4 separate regions of the Homo sapiens genome follow, and all the other regions are linked to region 2. Evidence: promoter capture Hi-C in human tissues and cell types (Jung and others, 2019). All regions are on one chromosome and are shown on one strand. Each heading gives the region's core, a stretch centred on a gene start or on the middle of the fragment in contact. The rest is flanking DNA. Distances are from core to core; before and after follow the strand shown.

Region 1 (4,258 bases), core at 345-2,844, 230 kb before region 2:
AGTCAAACAAGGAGACACAAAGTACATCAGATAAACTCAACAGTCATACTTTCCTTTTTCAGATTATAAAATTCTTTGTCTAAACACTAGAAGAAGGGAAGGAATGAAGGAAGGGGAAATAAAGAGGGTGGGGGAGGGGAAGGAGGGACGATAACTCAAAGACCTTGGACTTAAAATTTCAAACATCCAACCTAAGATTTATACAGATACATACAATATTGAATATAAAACTAAAGAAGGCTCAGAAAAGGAAAATGGGGTGTTTTTGGCTGGAATTCAGAAGTTCTGATTTCTAAGATAAGAAAGCCTGCTTTTGGATACTACTACATTCTTTCACTAAAATGTTGGAAATGTCCTAAAATCCATTTGAGCAATTCTGAGAAGTATCATGTGTCAGGAAAATTTTATTAAATGTCTTTCAAAAGCTATGCAACTAATGAAACTTCACATTTGACAAACATCTGGAGGGAAAAAAAAGCTGGCCCAACATCTTCAGGACTACATCACTATGCCAGCAAATAGAAATCATTTTCAAAGGTCCTCTAAGTCACATGCCATGGCACGCAGACACAAGAACATGACCCAGGAAGCTCACTTTTTCTATAAGAGGCCGGACAGAAAATGTTTTAGGGTTTCCAGGCCATATGGCTTCTGCCACTATTCAATTTTGTGGCTTTACTGCAAAAGCAGCCATGGATAATACCTAATGAATATGACTGTATCTCAATAAAAGCTTATGCACACCGAAATTTTAATTTCATGTGTCATGAAACAGTATTAATTTTTTTGCAACTATTTAAAAATGTAAAAATCATTCCACACAAAAACAAGCAATGGGCCAAATTTAAATCAGCCCACTGTCATAGTTAGACAACCACTAATGCAGACAATTAAATAAGGTAGTAATATTTAAACCATTTCACAAAATATCAGCCATTAATAAAGAAAGCCAGAGTCAGGGGCAGGGAAGGGAGGAACATGCTTCTTTTTTTTTTTTGAGACGGAGTCTTGCTCTGTTGCCCGGGCTGGAGTGCAGTGGCACGATCTCGGCTCACTGCAACCTCTGCCTTCCAGGTTCAAGAGATTCTCCTGCCTCAGCCTCCCGAGTAGCTGAGATTACAGGCGTTTGCCACCACACCAGCTAATTTTTACTATTTTTAGTAGAGACGGGGTTTCACTATGTTGGTCAGGCTGGTCTCAAACTCCTCACCTCAAATTATCTTCCCGCCTCAGCCTCCCAAAGTGCTGGGATTACAGGCGAGAGCTACTGCGCCTAGCCTATATACACAAAGCTATCTGAAGACAGTTTCTACTGAAATCATTCAAGAGAGAGGAAAAAAGCTCTTAACAAGGAAATTAAGTTTCTGCCTCCACAGACAAAGAGCAATCAGTAAACTCTCCGGGAAAGAACTCCAGAGTTCTAGGGAGCCGACCTACACCGTTCATGGAGCTCTTGATGTGGCAAACTAATTTTACATGACTTTATATAAGAAGAAAGGAAGCAGCAATTTAACAATCAAGTCAGGGAAAGAATGGCAACACGATGATTATAATCAGAGCAGAAGGAACTGCAAGCTCCAAACAGGCTACAGATTCAGGGACAGGGTCATAAAATGGTGGTATCTGAAACTGAAACTAATAAGTTATCATAAATAATAAAATCGGCTATGTACAAAAGTTACCTACCAAAAGAGATGGTGTGTAAGCCTGCTGCCAATGAGAGAAGGCCTCCAAAATCTCATCAGACACTAAGAAAACAAATAATCTGATAAATTGAGCTTTAATGGATTACATCAATCTGTGGCAATGTGGCAATGTCATAACAGAAGGGTGGTGGTCCACAAGGAGACTGGAGAAAGATAAGCCAAAGACAAGAATCTGTCAGTGTTTCTCTAAAGGACAGGCAGGAGAAGGTGCACACTGGCCTATTCCGTGGACTCATCTTGCCTAGAGGAAAGATGTGTACATCCAGCTATTCTGCTGTGCCTCCTGTGTAGACTCTCCACTCATCTATTCACTTCTGAAATAAAATGGTTTTCCAGACTTTCCTGCTGAGAACAGACACTCTGGCCAGGCCACCCCAGTGTCTCTTATGCTTTGCAGTTATATCTCTCCTTATAAATTAAGAAACTCAGCCAAGTGCAGTGGCTCACACCTATAATCCTAGCACTTTGGGAGGCAAAGGTGGGCAGACCACTTGAGCCAGGAGTTTGAGACCAGCCTAGGCAACATGGTGAAACCCAATCTCTACAAAAACTACAAAAATTAAGAAATGGTGACGTACTCCTGTAGTCCCAGCTACTTGGGAGGTTAAGGTTCCCACCCGGGAGAATCACCTGAGTCCTGGAGGTCAAGGCTTGTAGTGAGCTGAGATCGTGCCACTGCACTGCAGTCTGGGTGACAGAGTGAGACCCTGTCTCAAAAAAAAGAAAAAAGAAACAAACTGGTATTTATAGTATTATTAAGTCTCTAATGACTTTGATAAGTATGAATTGTCCACAAAAACCTCTTAATCATAACCATGGATAAACTGACAAAAAAAAAAAAAATCACACAGTTCTCCTATGTACTTTCTGAAATTGCAAAGGACAAGGTAGTAGAAAATACCACAAAGGGATACATAACCATACCAGGCCACCTTGTTCAGCCACCACTAACTGGTCTTAATCTCTTCTTACTGCCCTTAATTAAGGCAGAGGGTATGGTAGTTGAGAACACTGGGTTCTGGAGTCAGGCTGCTTGGTTTGAACAAAATCCTTCTCCATCACTTCCTAATTAAGGTTTCTTAAACACCCTGAGCTCAGTTTCTTCATCCTGTTGAGCAGAGATGAAGGGGGGATATACCTCCAAGAGTCATTGGGAGGATTAAGAGACAATGCATTTGAAGAGACATTGATACAATGTCTGGCACCTAGAAAGCACTCAACAAACGGTAGCTCCTTTTTGTTATTACCATCGTCGTTATTTTTTATTATTAACTGTAAAAATAGTGATAAATCCTTTTGCTGAATATACTGACTCTAGCAATATTCCAGTAGTTGATCTTCATTCGTAGCAGTTTTCTTCTTTATCTGAAGCTCAAAAGAGCTTTTTTTTCTTTTTTTGAGATGGTGTTTCACTCTTGGTGCCCAGACTGGAGTGCAATGGCACGATCTCGGCTCACCACAACCTCCGCCTCCCAGGTTCAAGTGATTCTCCTGCCTCAGCCTCCCGAGTAGCTGGGATTACAGGCATGCGCCACCACACCCAGCTAATTTTGTATTTTTAGCAGAGACAGAGTTTCTCCATGTTGGTCAGGCTGGTCTTGAACTCCCGACCTCAGGTGATCCACCCGCCTCAACCTCCCAAAGTACTGGGATTACAGGCGTGAGAAAAGAGCTTCTTAAGGCACTAAATTAATTCCAATGCAAGACCCCAACCAACTTCTTCACAAGCTTTTTCAACCAAGGTGCAGAACTGCTCCTCCCTCAACAGCTGCTGTTTTGATCACACAAGCACACCTGTTCAATCTCATTCCCAACTTCCAACCAGCTTCAGAAGTCATGTCAATCACCTCAAACTTTCTACCCCTCTTTCTCTCTATTATAAAATAAGGGTTCTCCAAAATTATGGAAAGTTACCACCTACCAACTCCTGATATAAGAAGTAACATTTCCTTATATATATAGTAGATATATGGATACACAGACAAAAAGCCATCAACAAAATATAAGTTGAAACCACAATGAGATGCCACTTTACACGCAGTAGAATGGTTATAATTTTTTTAAAAAAGAAGAAAATCAGTAAGTGTTGGCAAGGATATGGAGAAACTAGAACTCTCATACACTGCTGGTAGGAATGTAAAATGGTACAGCCACTTTGGAAAACAGTCTGGCAATTCCTCAAAGGTTAAATACAGAGTTATCATATGACCCAACAAGTCCACTCCCAGGTATATAACTAAGAGAATTAAAAACTTAGATCCACACAAAAACTTGTATGCAAATGTTCATAATAGCATTATTCACAATTGCCAAAAAATGAAAACAATCTAAATATCTATCAACTGATTAATGAATAAATAAAATGTGGGCTATCCATACAATGTAATGTCATTTGGCAATAAAAAGCATGAAGTGCTGATACACGCAACCACATGGATAAACCTTGAAAACATCATGCTGGGTGAAAGAAGCCAGTAGGAAAAGACCACATATTGCATGATTCCATTTATATGAAATGTCCAGAATAGGCAAATCTATAAAGACAAAAGTCA
Region 2 (3,921 bases), core at 177-2,676:
GCGAGCTGTCCTGTGCATTGTACCATGTATACAGCATCTCTCATCTCTACCTACTACACGCCTGTAGCACCCTCCTGATTGTGACAACCCAAAATGTCTCCAGATATTCAAAGTCCCTTAAAGGGCAGAACTGCCCCCAGTTGAGAACTGGGGTGTTTAGGGAGGGTCTCTGAGGAGATGACATTGGAGCTGGGATCTGAAGAAAAGCATCAGCTAGCTTAACGGTTGTAGGAAGTTCATTCTAAGGAGATGGGACAGCAAGTCCAACGGCCTTAACTCAGGAAAAGGTCTTGCATATTTGAGACACCAAAACAAGACCAGTGTGGCTGCGGCGTAGTGATTGGGGGAAGAAAAGCATGAGAAATAAAATGAGGAGGAGAAGTAGAACCGGCAGGGGTGGGTCTACAGAGCTTTGTAGGCCATAACAGGGAATGATGTGATTTCTAATTTTCAAAAAGCCGCTCTGGCTGCTATGTGAGAGTAGAAAACCCTGTAGGAAGGCAAGCGTGGAAGCAGAAAGACCCTCTGAGGCAACCACTTCAGCAGTGCAGAGGACAGCGGTAGGAGGGGCGGAGGGAAGTAGGCAGGTGCCAGAACCACGGTAAAGGAAGAGTTCCATGAGAATGCTTACACAGCAGTGGCAATCGAGGGCTGCATCCGCAAGGGCAGATGACACAGCACAGTGGTTCCCAACGCTCACAAGAAGCACCCTGGTTTCCCGCCTTCCTCTGTTCCTATTGGCACCATAATCTCTGTATAATCTGGGCCAAACGTGTTACCTCTCTGGGTCCCACAGATGAGATACTGTGCCCTGCCTCGAAGGCTGCCCGTGCGAAGCTCTTGCCATCTTTAAAGCATGCAGGCTGCCTGGCACCCGGGGCTAAACAAAGGCCACTGCTCTCCTTCACCGCGCAGCCCCCAGGCCTGCAGCTCCATGCCCCTCAGGTTGGGTGCAATGCCCCTGGTGCAGATTCTGCTCCCCGGGCCCTCTCTCAAACACCTGAGCAGGCTTGTGTCTCCCAGGGGAGGTCGTCCCCCGCTACTCGGGAGGGTTACGGAAACCAGTGCTTCCGCTTCCCCGCCGCCCGCGGGACAGGTGTCTCCTGGCCGAGCTCGTGCGGGGCCCTGGGAGGCTCTCAGTACACGGGAACCGTGGGTCCCGCCCGCCTTCCCGCACCAGGCCCCAAGCCCCAAGCCCCAAGCTCTCGGGGCCCCGTTCATCCGCCTCTCCTTGGCCCCACGCCTCCTCCTTGGGCCGGGGCCTGGTGAGAACCACGAGGGCCGCGCGGCAGCCTCACCCCTCTCGAAGTCCATCTCCTCCAGCGTCTGCTGTACGCCGAGCACCGCGCTGGGATGCGAGCAGCAGGGCCCGTCCGCGCAGGGCCGAGGCGTCGCCATCCCGGCCCCGGCGTCAGTCGATCCGCCCCGGGTCTCAGGCTCAGCCTCGGCGGGAGGGGCGGACGCAGGGCCCGCCCCGCGTCCCTGATCTGGCCGCTCGGCGTCCGCGGCTGTCGCCCTAGTCCCGCCTTCTCGCCAAAGCTGACCAATCAAACGCCTAGGCCTTAGCTCGAGAACCAATTGCAACGGTAGGGCGGGGCTTGTTGCGCCCGGCCGTGCCCCGAGGCCTCCGCGCGAGGGCGTCCAAGGCCAAGCGAGGACTGAGGCGCTGGGTTCCGGGAGCCGCGCGCCGCTGGAGGGCCGCCGGGCCGCCTGGCCTTGCAGGGTGTGGGGATGAGGCAGCTGGGTCCGGTCGGGAGCTTTCCCGTTACCTTCGCCATGACCCAGCCGTCCAGCGACCTCGCAGCCTCCTCTCTTTACCGCCCCTAGTCCCTAGGGCAGGGAGGCGCCACGCGCTCCGCGGTCTTTTTTTTTTTTTTTTTTTTTTTTGAGACGGAGTCTCGCTGTCACCCAGACTTGTGTGCAGTGGCGCGATCTCGGCTCACTGCAACCTCCGCCTCCCGGGTTCAAGCGATTCTCCTGCGTCAGACTCCTGAGTAGCTGGGACTACAGGCGCCCGCCACCACGCCCGGCTAATTTTTTGTATTTTTTAGTAGAGACGGGGTTTCGCCAGGATGGTCTCGATCTCTTGACCTCGTGATCCGCTCACCTTGGCCTCCCAAAGTGCTGGGATTACAGGCGTGAGCCATCGGGCCGGGGCGCGCTCCACGGTTTTTAGCCCCTCTTCCTGGCACCACCCCGGACCAAGGCCGACCGCCCCCGGGGCAGCGGCAAAGTGACGGCTGGAAAGGCCTCGAGACGCCCCTCCCCGTACCCTGCTCTTCCTTACAAGTCCAGCAAGGGGCAGGTGGCCACAACTTGTCCTGCCTGTAGCTCCACCTCAGGGCAGGGGCAGGGCCTTGGTTTGTGCAGAACCCCCTGGCCCCACAGTGGGCGCTGAGTTTACGGAATCGGTCTTCATGATCAAAACCCACCGGGAGGCCGTCTGCGGACCGCGCACCTTCGCAGCGTGCTCCTCAGCGGACCCCAGCCTTCTCAATTCCCAGTTAAAACCCAGGCAGCTGCCTGCTCAAGCCACGATCAAGTGTACAGGGGAGACCGCCTGATCGGCTTAGAAAGAGTGCATGAACGACAGAATGCAGGTTGGGTTCTGTGCCAGTCCCTCTCCAGGACAGTGGTCTGGTGCACACTGGATGTAAGTTCCTTCCCCCGCTAGTTGGGGCACGGAAGACCCTAGCATTCCTGGTGGGTAGAAGGCTGGAAGTCGTTTCTCCTCCCCTAAGCAGGTTGAGAACCCCATCCTCACACAAGCAATGATCTCATCTCCACAACCTTCCACTCCTTTGGCCCCTCATTCCCACTACCCGTCTTGAGTTCTGGGAAGGCACCCCCCCCACCACTCCGCTTCTCCCCTGGACTCCCAGTGCCCTGACTTCTCCTTCTGGCCAGAAGCCAAGGCTGGCTCCCAAGGGGCTATGGCCATGGTCTCGTTCCCAGCCCCGCAGCCACCACTGTGGGAAAACACTAGAGCTGGGCTGTCCCCTCCCACAGGCAGGCAGGGACCACAAAAGTGGTGGCTGCCCTGGGATTGTGGGGGAGGCCCAGTCCAGCCTCCCTCCACCCAGAGAGCCTTCCCTCTTGGTACCCAGAAAGGCTTTAGCCCAAACATCTTAGCCCCATCAGAGCAATCGTTTCATTTTCTCCATTTTATTTGTCAATATAAAAATACTCAAATATTTACAACAAATAAATACGCGGGGACACAATAAGTTACACTGTTAGGAGCCCTCCTCCTAGGGCTGGAAGAGAGTATGCCATTGTCCACAGCAGGCCCACCCTCTCCCTTCTCTCCCCTCACACAGCCTTTCCCAGCCCTGTACAGGAAGAAGGCAAGTATAAAATACCACTGAACCCCGGGGCCAAGTGGGAGGCCCCACCCACCCTTCCCCCCAAACACACAGGAGGCTCCATCTCCCTCCCCCCACCCTGAAAACATTCACAGCCCTAGGAGCAGGACTAGGCCCACCCCAAGCCCTGCACTCCCTCTGAAGGGGCACAGCACCCTGTCCACCCCACCTCCATATGTACATCGCTGCCCGACACTCGGGGCAGTGGGGGTAGGAGAGACAAAGTGATACGACCCCTTCCCCTTCATAGCTCCAATGACTCACCAGGAGGACCCAGGCCAAGGGAAGACTTGACAGAAACAGGAAGGCTATGCCACAAGCGCGCACGCGCGTGCACACACACATACACACACACACAAACACATGTGCAAATACAGACAAACACACATCTTGAAACTTCTGCCTTGAAAAGTTTTGGCGGCTGGGGTCCCGCGTGTCTGTGATTCACAGAGAGGAGGAAGATGCCTTCTGCGAGGCTGGTGCCCTGGTGAGCCACACCAAGTGGCAGTGCCCGTGCTGAGCAGAGCAGGTCCTCATGGCCGGGTGGGTGCTGGGC
Region 3 (4,232 bases), core at 443-2,942, 180 kb before region 2:
TAATTTTTGCATATGGTATGAGGGAGGAATTGAGATTATTTTTCTCTATACAGATAACCAGTGGAGCACCATTTGCCTGAAAGTAATTCAGTAATTCAGTCCCACATTGAATTACTTTGCCACCTTTGTTGAAAATCAGTTAACCATATTATTGATCTATTTGCCTATCCTTATCCACCACAACCTCCGCCTCCTGGGTTCAAGCAATTCTCCTGCCTCAGCCTCCCAAGTAGCTGGGATTACAGGCATGCGCCACCATGCCTAATTTTGTATTTTTAGTAGAGATGGAGTTTCTCCATGTTGATCAGGCTGGTCTCAAACTCCCGACCTCAGGTGATCTGCCCACCTCAGCCTCCCAAAGTGCTGGAATTACAAGCGTGAGCCGCTGGGCCCGGCCTAGTTGTTCTTTTACAAAATAATTTTGGCTATTGTACAAGTCTTTGGGTTGGACTTTTGTTGAAAATGGGTTACTTCCCATTTTCCTATTTTAGCATAAGCTCAACAATTTCTACAAAAAAGGCCACTGGAATTTCCTGTGTTCGTTTTCATCAGGTATTTTTTGTTTTTTTTTTTTTTTAGTATTACATTCTATCTATTGACAATATGTATCTTTGGATTATTTTTAGTGGTTGCTCAAGGAATTACAATATTGACCCTTAACTCATCATAGTCTACTTTGAGTTAATAATATGCCACCTCACAGAAATAATTGTTTTATTATATGTAATATACCATGCAATTAATTACAGTATAATTGCATTGATACCTTACATTATCTTTGTTATACCTTTTTTTAAATATTTTTGGGACGGAGTCTCACTCTGTCGCCCAGGCCGGAGTGCGGCGGTCTGCCTCTTGGGTTCCCGGGTTCAAGTGATACTCCTGCTTCAGCCTCCCCAGTAGCTGGGATTACAGGAGTGTGCCACCACGCCCAGCTAATTTTTGTATTTTTAGTAGAGATAGGGTTTCGCCACGTTGGCCAGGCTGGTCTCGAACTCCTGACCTCAGGTCATCCGCTCGCCTCAGCTTCCTAAAGTGCTGGGATTACAGGCGTGGGCCACGATGCCCGTCCTATCTTTGTTATACATTCTGGAATTGGCTTGCTAATATTTTGTTGAGGCTTTTGCATCTATGTTGATGAGTAAAATCTTATTTTGTTAGTAATCTATTTAATGATGTAATTTACATACCACAGAATTCTCTTGCTTTGTAGTGACTCCCCTGTCCCCACCCCCAGGTCCACACAACTATTAATCTACTTTTGTCTCTGCATATTTACTTTTCCTGGATGTTTCATATAAATGAAATTATACAATATGTCATCTTTTGCATCTGGCTTCCTTCACTTGGCGTAATGTTTTCCAGGTTTATCCATGATGCAGTGTGTATCAGTTCTCCATTCCTTTTCATTGCCAAATAGTATTCCATCGTATGGGTGTACCATCCATCATTTGTTAATCCATTCATCAGTTGATGGGCATTGTTCCCACCTCTTAGCTATTAAGAATAAAGCTGCCCGGGCACGGTGGCTCACTCCTGTAATCCTAGCACTTTGGGAGGCTGAGGCGGGTGGATCACCTGAGGTCGGGAGTTCGAGACCAGCCTGACCAACATGGTGAAACCCCGTCTCTACTAAAAATACAAAATTACCCGGGCATGGTGGCACATGCCTGTAATCCCAGCTACTCAGGAGGCTGAGGCAGGAGAATTGCTTGAACCCAGGAGGCGGAGGTTGCAGTGAGCTGAGATCACACCATTGCACTCCAGCCTGGGCAACAAGAGCGAAACTCCGTCTCAAAAAAAAAAAAAAAGAATAAAGCTGCTGTGAACATTCGTATACAAGTCTTTAAGTGGAATGGCTTTTTAAGAAACTGCCAAGCTTTTCCAAAGTGGCCACACCATTTTATATTCTCCTAGAAATGTAAGATGATTTCAGTTTCTCATTTATCATCTGTCTTTATTTAGTATAGTAGGCACACAGTGGCAGCTCATCGTTGTGTTAATCTGCATTTCATGTAATGACACTGAGCACCTTTTTTTTTTTAATTTTTATTATTTATTGATTTATTTTTTGAGACCGAATCTCGCTCTGACACCCAGGCTGGAGTGCAGTGGGGCAATCCCAGCTCACTGCAACCTCCGCCCGCCCCCCGGGTTCAAGCAATTCTCTTTCCTCAGCCCCACCAAGTAGCTGGGACTACAGGCATGTGCCACCACGCCCGGCTAGATTTTGTATTTTTCGTAGAGACAGGGTTTCACCATGTTGCCCAGCCTGGTCTCAAAACTCCTGGGCTCAAGCAATCCACCCACCTCGGCCTCCCAAAGTGCTGGGATTACAGGTGTGAGCCACTGCACTCAGCCTATTTTTATTTTCTATTCTTTGAGACAGGGTCTCGCTCTGACACCCAAGCTGGAGTGCAGTGGTGCAATCACGGGCTCATGGCAACCTGTGCTTCCAGGGCTCAGGTGATCCTCCCACCTGACTCCCAAGTAGCTGGGACTACAGGCACGCACCACCACACCTGGCTAATTTTTGTATTTTTAGTAGAGACGGAGTTTCTCCATTTTGTCCAGGCTGTTCTTGAACTCCTGGGCTCAAGCAATCCACCCACCTTGGCCTCCCAAAGTGCTGGGATTACAGGCATGAGCCATTGTGCCTGGCCACATCTTTTCATGTGCTCATTAACCATTCATTTATCTTCTTTAGTGATATGTCTATTCAAATGTGTTGCCTGTTTTTAAATTGCATTGTTTCTCTTATTATTGAGTTGCAATAATTCATTATATATTCTGCATACAAGTCCTGTACCAGATATGTGATTTGCAAATTGTCTGTGGCTTGTCTTTTCATTTTCTTAGTAGTGTCTTTTGAAGTGCCAACATTTTTAATTTGATAAAATCCAATTTATTTTTTCTTTTATGGTGTTATAGCTAAGAACTCTTTGGTTAACTCATGATTGTGAAGATTTTTCTCCTATTTTTTCTTCTAAGTTTTCTAGTTTTGGCTGGGTGTGGTGGCTCACGCCTGTAATCCCAACACTTTGGGAGGCTGAGGCAGATCACTTGAGCCCAGGAGTTCAAGACCAGCCTGGGCAACATGGCGAGATCCTACAGAAATTTTTTAAAAAATTAGCTGGGCATGGCGACACACACCTATAGTTTTTTTTTTTTTTGAGATGGCGTCTCGCTCCCTCACCAGGCTGGAGTGCAGTGGCACAATCTCGGCTCACTGCAACCTCCACTTCCCAGGTTCAAGCAATTCTCCTGCCTCAGCCTCCTGAGTAGCTGAGATTACAGGCGCGTGTCACCACGCCCAGCTAATTTTTCTATTTTTAGTAGAGACGGGGTTTCACCATGTTGGTCAGGCTGGTCTCGATCTCGTGACCTCGTGATCCACCCGCTTCAGCCTCCCAAAGTGCTGGGATTACAGGCGTGAGCCACCGCACCCGGCCACACCTGTAGTTTTTACAGTTTTACCTCTTACACTTATCTGTATGATTCATTTTGAATTAATTTGCATGTGAATATCCAGTTGTTCAAGCAACATTTGTTAAAAAGACCATCCTTTCCTCATGTGTTTTCCTAGGTTACATGTTAAAATACTTACTCTGTTCCATTGTTTAATTTTCTACATCAGAGGCTCCATTTATGGGTTTAGTGATTCTCCTTGGTTTTATCTGTATCTGTCATTTTCTCCCTGATCCTTTTTTGACCTATTCTTTCCATTTCATTTCGGTTACTTTTCTTATTTCTATCCTTATTTCCATGCCCCTCACTGAATTGTCTGCAGCATCTAATCTCCCGTGGACTACTTATGTTACCTTCCCATCTCTGTTTTTGTTTTTTCTTCTACTTGTTTTCTGAAGTTTACGGGCTCACATTGCCTCATAAGCTCCTGAGCTCCTTCAGGGAGTGTGTTTTTGCTGGCACTTTCTGCAATCTGCCCCTACTCAGCATGCTTCCCGCTGTCTGTCTTGCTAGTCGTGTCCCGCAGGTGGCTGCTGCTGCTGCGCTTCACCCCTTGGCTTCGGTGGCGGTCACAGTTGCTTTTGGCAGTCCTTACGTGTATTTTGAGTCTGCAGATTATATCTGTCTCCTTGGTTTGCTGAAAACTGAGTTATTTTCCTTCTGCTTGTTGCTTTTGTAAGTTCTCCAAGAGTAGGAGAGGAAAATTGCTGTTGTGTATCCTCACACTGAGAGCCCCAGGCATGCATCTCTGCTTATTTATCATT
Region 4 (3,995 bases), core at 790-3,289, 240 kb after region 2:
GGCACCTGTAATCCCAGCTACTAGGGAAGCTGAGACAAGAGAATCACTTGAACACAGGAGGCAGAGGTTGTAGTGAGCCAAGAACATGCCACATCCCTCCAGCCCAGGCAACAGAGCGACTCCAAAAAAAAAAAAAAAAAAAAAAAGAAATTATCCACAGAGCTCAGGTCCTGTTTTGAGTCCAAGGCTCCACTTAAAGACAAACACTATTCTCTTGTTTTGTTCTGAATCCAAGTCTGGCCACTATTCCTTACCACATGGTGCCTTCCCTGAATGGTTCCTTGCTCTTCCAACAAAGGCAGTTTGTATTGTACAGCCTTCTATGCCCAAAAATGTTGAGGCAGCTGAGCCCCAGACTCTTGGTCCTCACTTGGAGATTCAATCTGCCTTGTTCAGTTAAAGACTCATTAGACTTAGGTCACCACTGTTGTGGCCCGCCAGTTTGACTAGAAAACAGAGTTTTGACTTCTCTGCCCTGCTATCTTACACAAGCACCAACTGTGCCACTGTCAAAAGGCTGTTCGAGCCAAAGTGCACACACTCAGACACTCCACATGCTAACATAACAGTAACTGCTGCCGCTGAATGCCAACTATTAAGTGCTCTACCTACAATGTCTGATTTAATTCTTTTTTTTTTTTTTTTTTTTTGAGATGGAGTCTCGCTCTGTCGCCCAGGCTGGAGTGCAGTGGCGCAATCTTGGCTCACTGCAAGCTCTGCCTCCCGGGTTCATGCCATTCTCCTGCCTCAGCCTCCCCAGCAGCTGGGACTACAGGCGCATGCCGCCACGCCCGGCTAATTTTTGTATTTTTAGTAGAGACGGTGTTTCACTGAGTTAGCCAGGATGGTCTCGATCTCCTGACCTTGTGATCCGCCCACCTCGGCCTCCCAAATTGTTGGTATTACAGGAGTGAGCCACGGCGCCCGGCCTGATTTAATTCTTGACGCTTGTGGAAGGTAGGTACTGTTAGTCCCATTTTACAGATGAAACAGTTAAGGCTTAAAGCGGTTAAGGGATTTGCCCAAGGTTACACAGTCTTAAAGCTAGGAGGGGAGGGAGCTGGGATGTGAATCCAAGTCCAGGTGACATTGAAGTCCTTGGTTCAGAAGCCTGTAATGCAAGCAAGAAAATCTAGCTTCAGCCCCATCTTCCTACCAAGGACATTTTAACCCAGAATGTTGTGGTGAGAAGTGGGGACCTTCCATAGGAAATCCTCCAAAGGCCCTAAAGATTGTAGTGAGAAGTAGGGACCTCCCACAGGAGATCCTCCAGAGGCCCTGCAAACAGCCATGCGTGGGGAAACTACAGGCGCTCTCTGGCTATTGCCTCAGGGACGAGGCTGGTTACCAGCTCTCCAAGAGAACTCCAGGCCCCATTGACTGTTCCCTTCCCACATGACACACACATGCAGGTTCATTCCAACCTTACAGCAATCCCCTCAGGTAAAGCGCCCTCACTTTACAGAAGAGGACACTGAGACTCAAAGGGATGACGTCAGGTGCCCAAGGTACTAGTCAGAAAGTGGCCCTGGGGCTTCTGCAACAACCACTATGTCACACAGTCCGAGCTCAATCCAACTCTGCAAGAGTCCATAAGCAAAGGGGCGGCGACGTGAGGTGGAAACAGTAGCCTGAAACGTGGGTGTGCACGTCGGATCCCATCCCACCGTCCACTCGCCTGGAAACCCCCAGTTTCCCCATATGCCCAGCTTCGTCCCCTGCAATTAGTGAGGGCTCACATGGGTCCGCCCCATCCGTGTGGTCGGAAACGGCCGGGAACCTGGTTCTAGTTCTGCCCTCCGCGGGAGACCTGCGCCAGGGACACCCTTCTGGCCTAACCCAGCCAGGCCTGGTCTACCTGGCGGCGGCGGCGGCGGCAGCCGGTCCTCCTGCGCTGAGTTAGGGCTCGCGGGGCGGGAGGTCAAGGGCAGCGGGCGCCTGAGCACTGGCACCAGTCACCGCATCCAGCCGGGGAACTACAGCAGCGGCGAAGTCACTGCCGCTCGGTGCGCACTCCAGCGAGAAGCGGGCGCGTCCTGTGACGTCACAGGCAACCACCCCTAGCAGGGCACCAATCCCGGAGGGCGGGCCCAGTGCGGGGCGGGCGGCGCCGGGGGCTCTTCAGGCTCAGGGCATAGGCAGGCGGCGGCCGCGTTTTCTGGAGACGGTCGCTCTCGGAGGGACCCTGCAATTGCCCGAGACCGAGAGTGGGCGCTGCCTGAAAGTTTGTCCCTGGGCGCTTCGCTGGCCTCATCCGGTCTCGGCCTTGTTCTGGGCCTGGCGCCTTTCCCATTGTTGGGGAAAGTGGTCTAGGAGACCAAGGCAGCGTGCTGGGTGGGAGAGAATGATTTGTGGCTTCTGATTCTGACATATGTCGTTAAGGAGGGGAGGGATGAGTGACCCTGTTTTACTTATGGAGAACCTGGGGCCAGAGCTGTTTTCCCAGGGTGACACAGGCGGTGAGTAGTGGAGCTGGCATTCCTGACCCCAAAGCTCAGCGTTTCCCAGCCACTCTCCGCAGCCAGGCCTTCACCTGCACTGCTGGGCGCAGGTGGGGAAGTGGGGAAACGGTGCTCCATCCCCTGCAGAGGGCAGGCGTGCGGGGAGCGGTGGCTGAACTCCACAGACAGCTACTGCTCAGCTCTTCAGCTGCCGGCTTTGAAGAGTGTGAGGGGCTCTGGGCAAGAGGCCCCCACATTACTCAAGGACCAGATCATCAAGAGCTTTACTTGTCCCACAAAGGAGTCTGGACCTCGTTTAAGTGCACAGGAGACCGCTGGAAGGTCCTCAGTGGCGTGCCATGGCCCGACTTCTATTTGAGAAGTTTTTCTCTGGCCACCCGTCTAAGGAAAGGTATCTGGGTGGGTGGTGCGGGTGAGAACAATGGTGGTGCGGTGCTTGGCGGAGAAGGTGAGTGTCCAGAGATGTTCAGGAAGAAGAACTGACAGCTCTGGATGACAGGAGGTGGAAGTGAGAAGGAAGCAGGTACAAGGCCGGCTCCTGGGTCTCTAGCCCGGTAGGTGCAGGGCCGTTCATGGAGACAGGGCTTCTGGAGGAGCAGCGGGTCTGGGGAGATGATAGTGAGCTCCAATTTGCATGGGACATCCAAAGGGCATTGAACGGTGGGCAGTTGGAGACGTGGGTCTGGAGCTTGGGACTTCAGCCTAGCTTGCAGAAAGTCACCACTGATATAGAAATGGAACCTATGGCCGGGTGCGGTGGCTCACACCTGTAATCCCAGCACTTTGGGAGGCCAAGGTGGGCGAATCAGATCAGGAGATCGAGACCATCCCGGCCAACATTATGAAACGCCGTCTCCACTAAATATACAAAAAATTAGCCGGGCGTGTTGGCGGGCGCCTGTAGTCCCAGCTATTCGGGAGGCTGAGGCAGGAGAATGGCCTGAACCCGGGAGGCAGAGCTTGCAGTGAGCCCAGATCACACCACTGGGGAACAGAGCGAGACTCTGTCTCAAAAAAAAAAAAAAAAAAAAAAAGAAATGGAGCCTATGGGGGTGGCTGTGATCAGGGGGATGTGCTGAGGAGAACCTGGCGTAAGTGTTTCATTAAGCCATAGCTCCCAAAGACTTTCTGAAAAGCTAAGTTACAGCCTGAAAGAAAAGATCTTCAGAGGCTATATTTGATAAAAGACTTGTATCCAGAATATAGAAAGAGCACTTAAAATCAATAGATAAAATCAAACAATTCAATTTTTTAAATGGACAAAATATTTAAACAGACACTTCACCAAAGAAGATATACAGATAGAAAATTGAAAGACATGAAAAGATGCTCAACATCATTAATAATTAAGGATATGCAAATTACAAGCACAGTGTGACACCGTCTCACACCTACTAGAATGGACAAAGAAGACTGATTATACCAAGTATTCGAAAGAATGTGGAGGACCTGGGATTCTTGTACACTGCTTATGGGATTATAAAATAGTATCACTACAATTGAAAATCATTTGGCAGTGTATGAAGAGAGTTA

The links. The method cuts DNA at HindIII sites, captures the fragments that hold promoters and counts their contacts. A contact is called where the count stands out against the background at its distance.
Region 1: a fragment that was not itself captured here is called in contact with the fragment with the promoter of ANKRD39 in region 2 in 1 of the 25 tissues and cell types used here (small bowel).
Region 3: a fragment that was not itself captured here is called in contact with the fragment with the promoter of ANKRD39 in region 2 in 1 of the 25 tissues and cell types used here (stomach).
Region 4: the fragment with the promoter of FAHD2B here is called in contact with the fragment with the promoter of ANKRD39 in region 2 in 2 of the 25 tissues and cell types used here (H1 embryonic stem cells and dorsolateral prefrontal cortex).

Annotation. Positions count from the first base shown.
Region 1 is chr2:96,626,236-96,630,493 of GRCh38, forward strand. The region is part of intron 3 of KANSL3 (KAT8 regulatory NSL complex subunit 3); the gene reads right to left. Among named protein-coding and RNA genes, the nearest start is that of KANSL3, 9.9 kb to the right of the region's middle. The HindIII fragment of the contact is 4,794 bases long and covers 1-3,991 here.
Region 2 is chr2:96,856,590-96,860,510 of GRCh38, forward strand. It overlaps ANKRD39 (ankyrin repeat domain 39), which reads right to left and starts at 1,427. Exons shown (of 4, transcript NM_016466.6): 1 at 1,299-1,427. The coding sequence starts at 1,398. SEMA4C (semaphorin 4C) reads right to left here. Exons shown (of 15, transcript NM_017789.5): 15 at 3,129-3,921. RefSeq lists silencers at 1,088-1,257, 1,288-1,957. The HindIII fragment of the contact is 43,475 bases long and covers 1-3,921 here.
Region 3 is chr2:96,676,070-96,680,301 of GRCh38, forward strand. The region is part of intron 19 of FER1L5 (fer-1 like family member 5); the gene reads left to right. Among named protein-coding and RNA genes, the nearest start is that of FER1L5, 35 kb to the left of the region's middle. The HindIII fragment of the contact is 5,493 bases long and covers 1-4,232 here.
Region 4 is chr2:97,092,843-97,096,837 of GRCh38, forward strand. FAHD2B (fumarylacetoacetate hydrolase domain containing 2B) reads right to left here and starts at 2,040. Exons shown (of 9, transcript NM_001320848.2): 1 at 1,859-2,040. The HindIII fragment of the contact is 11,159 bases long and covers 1-3,995 here.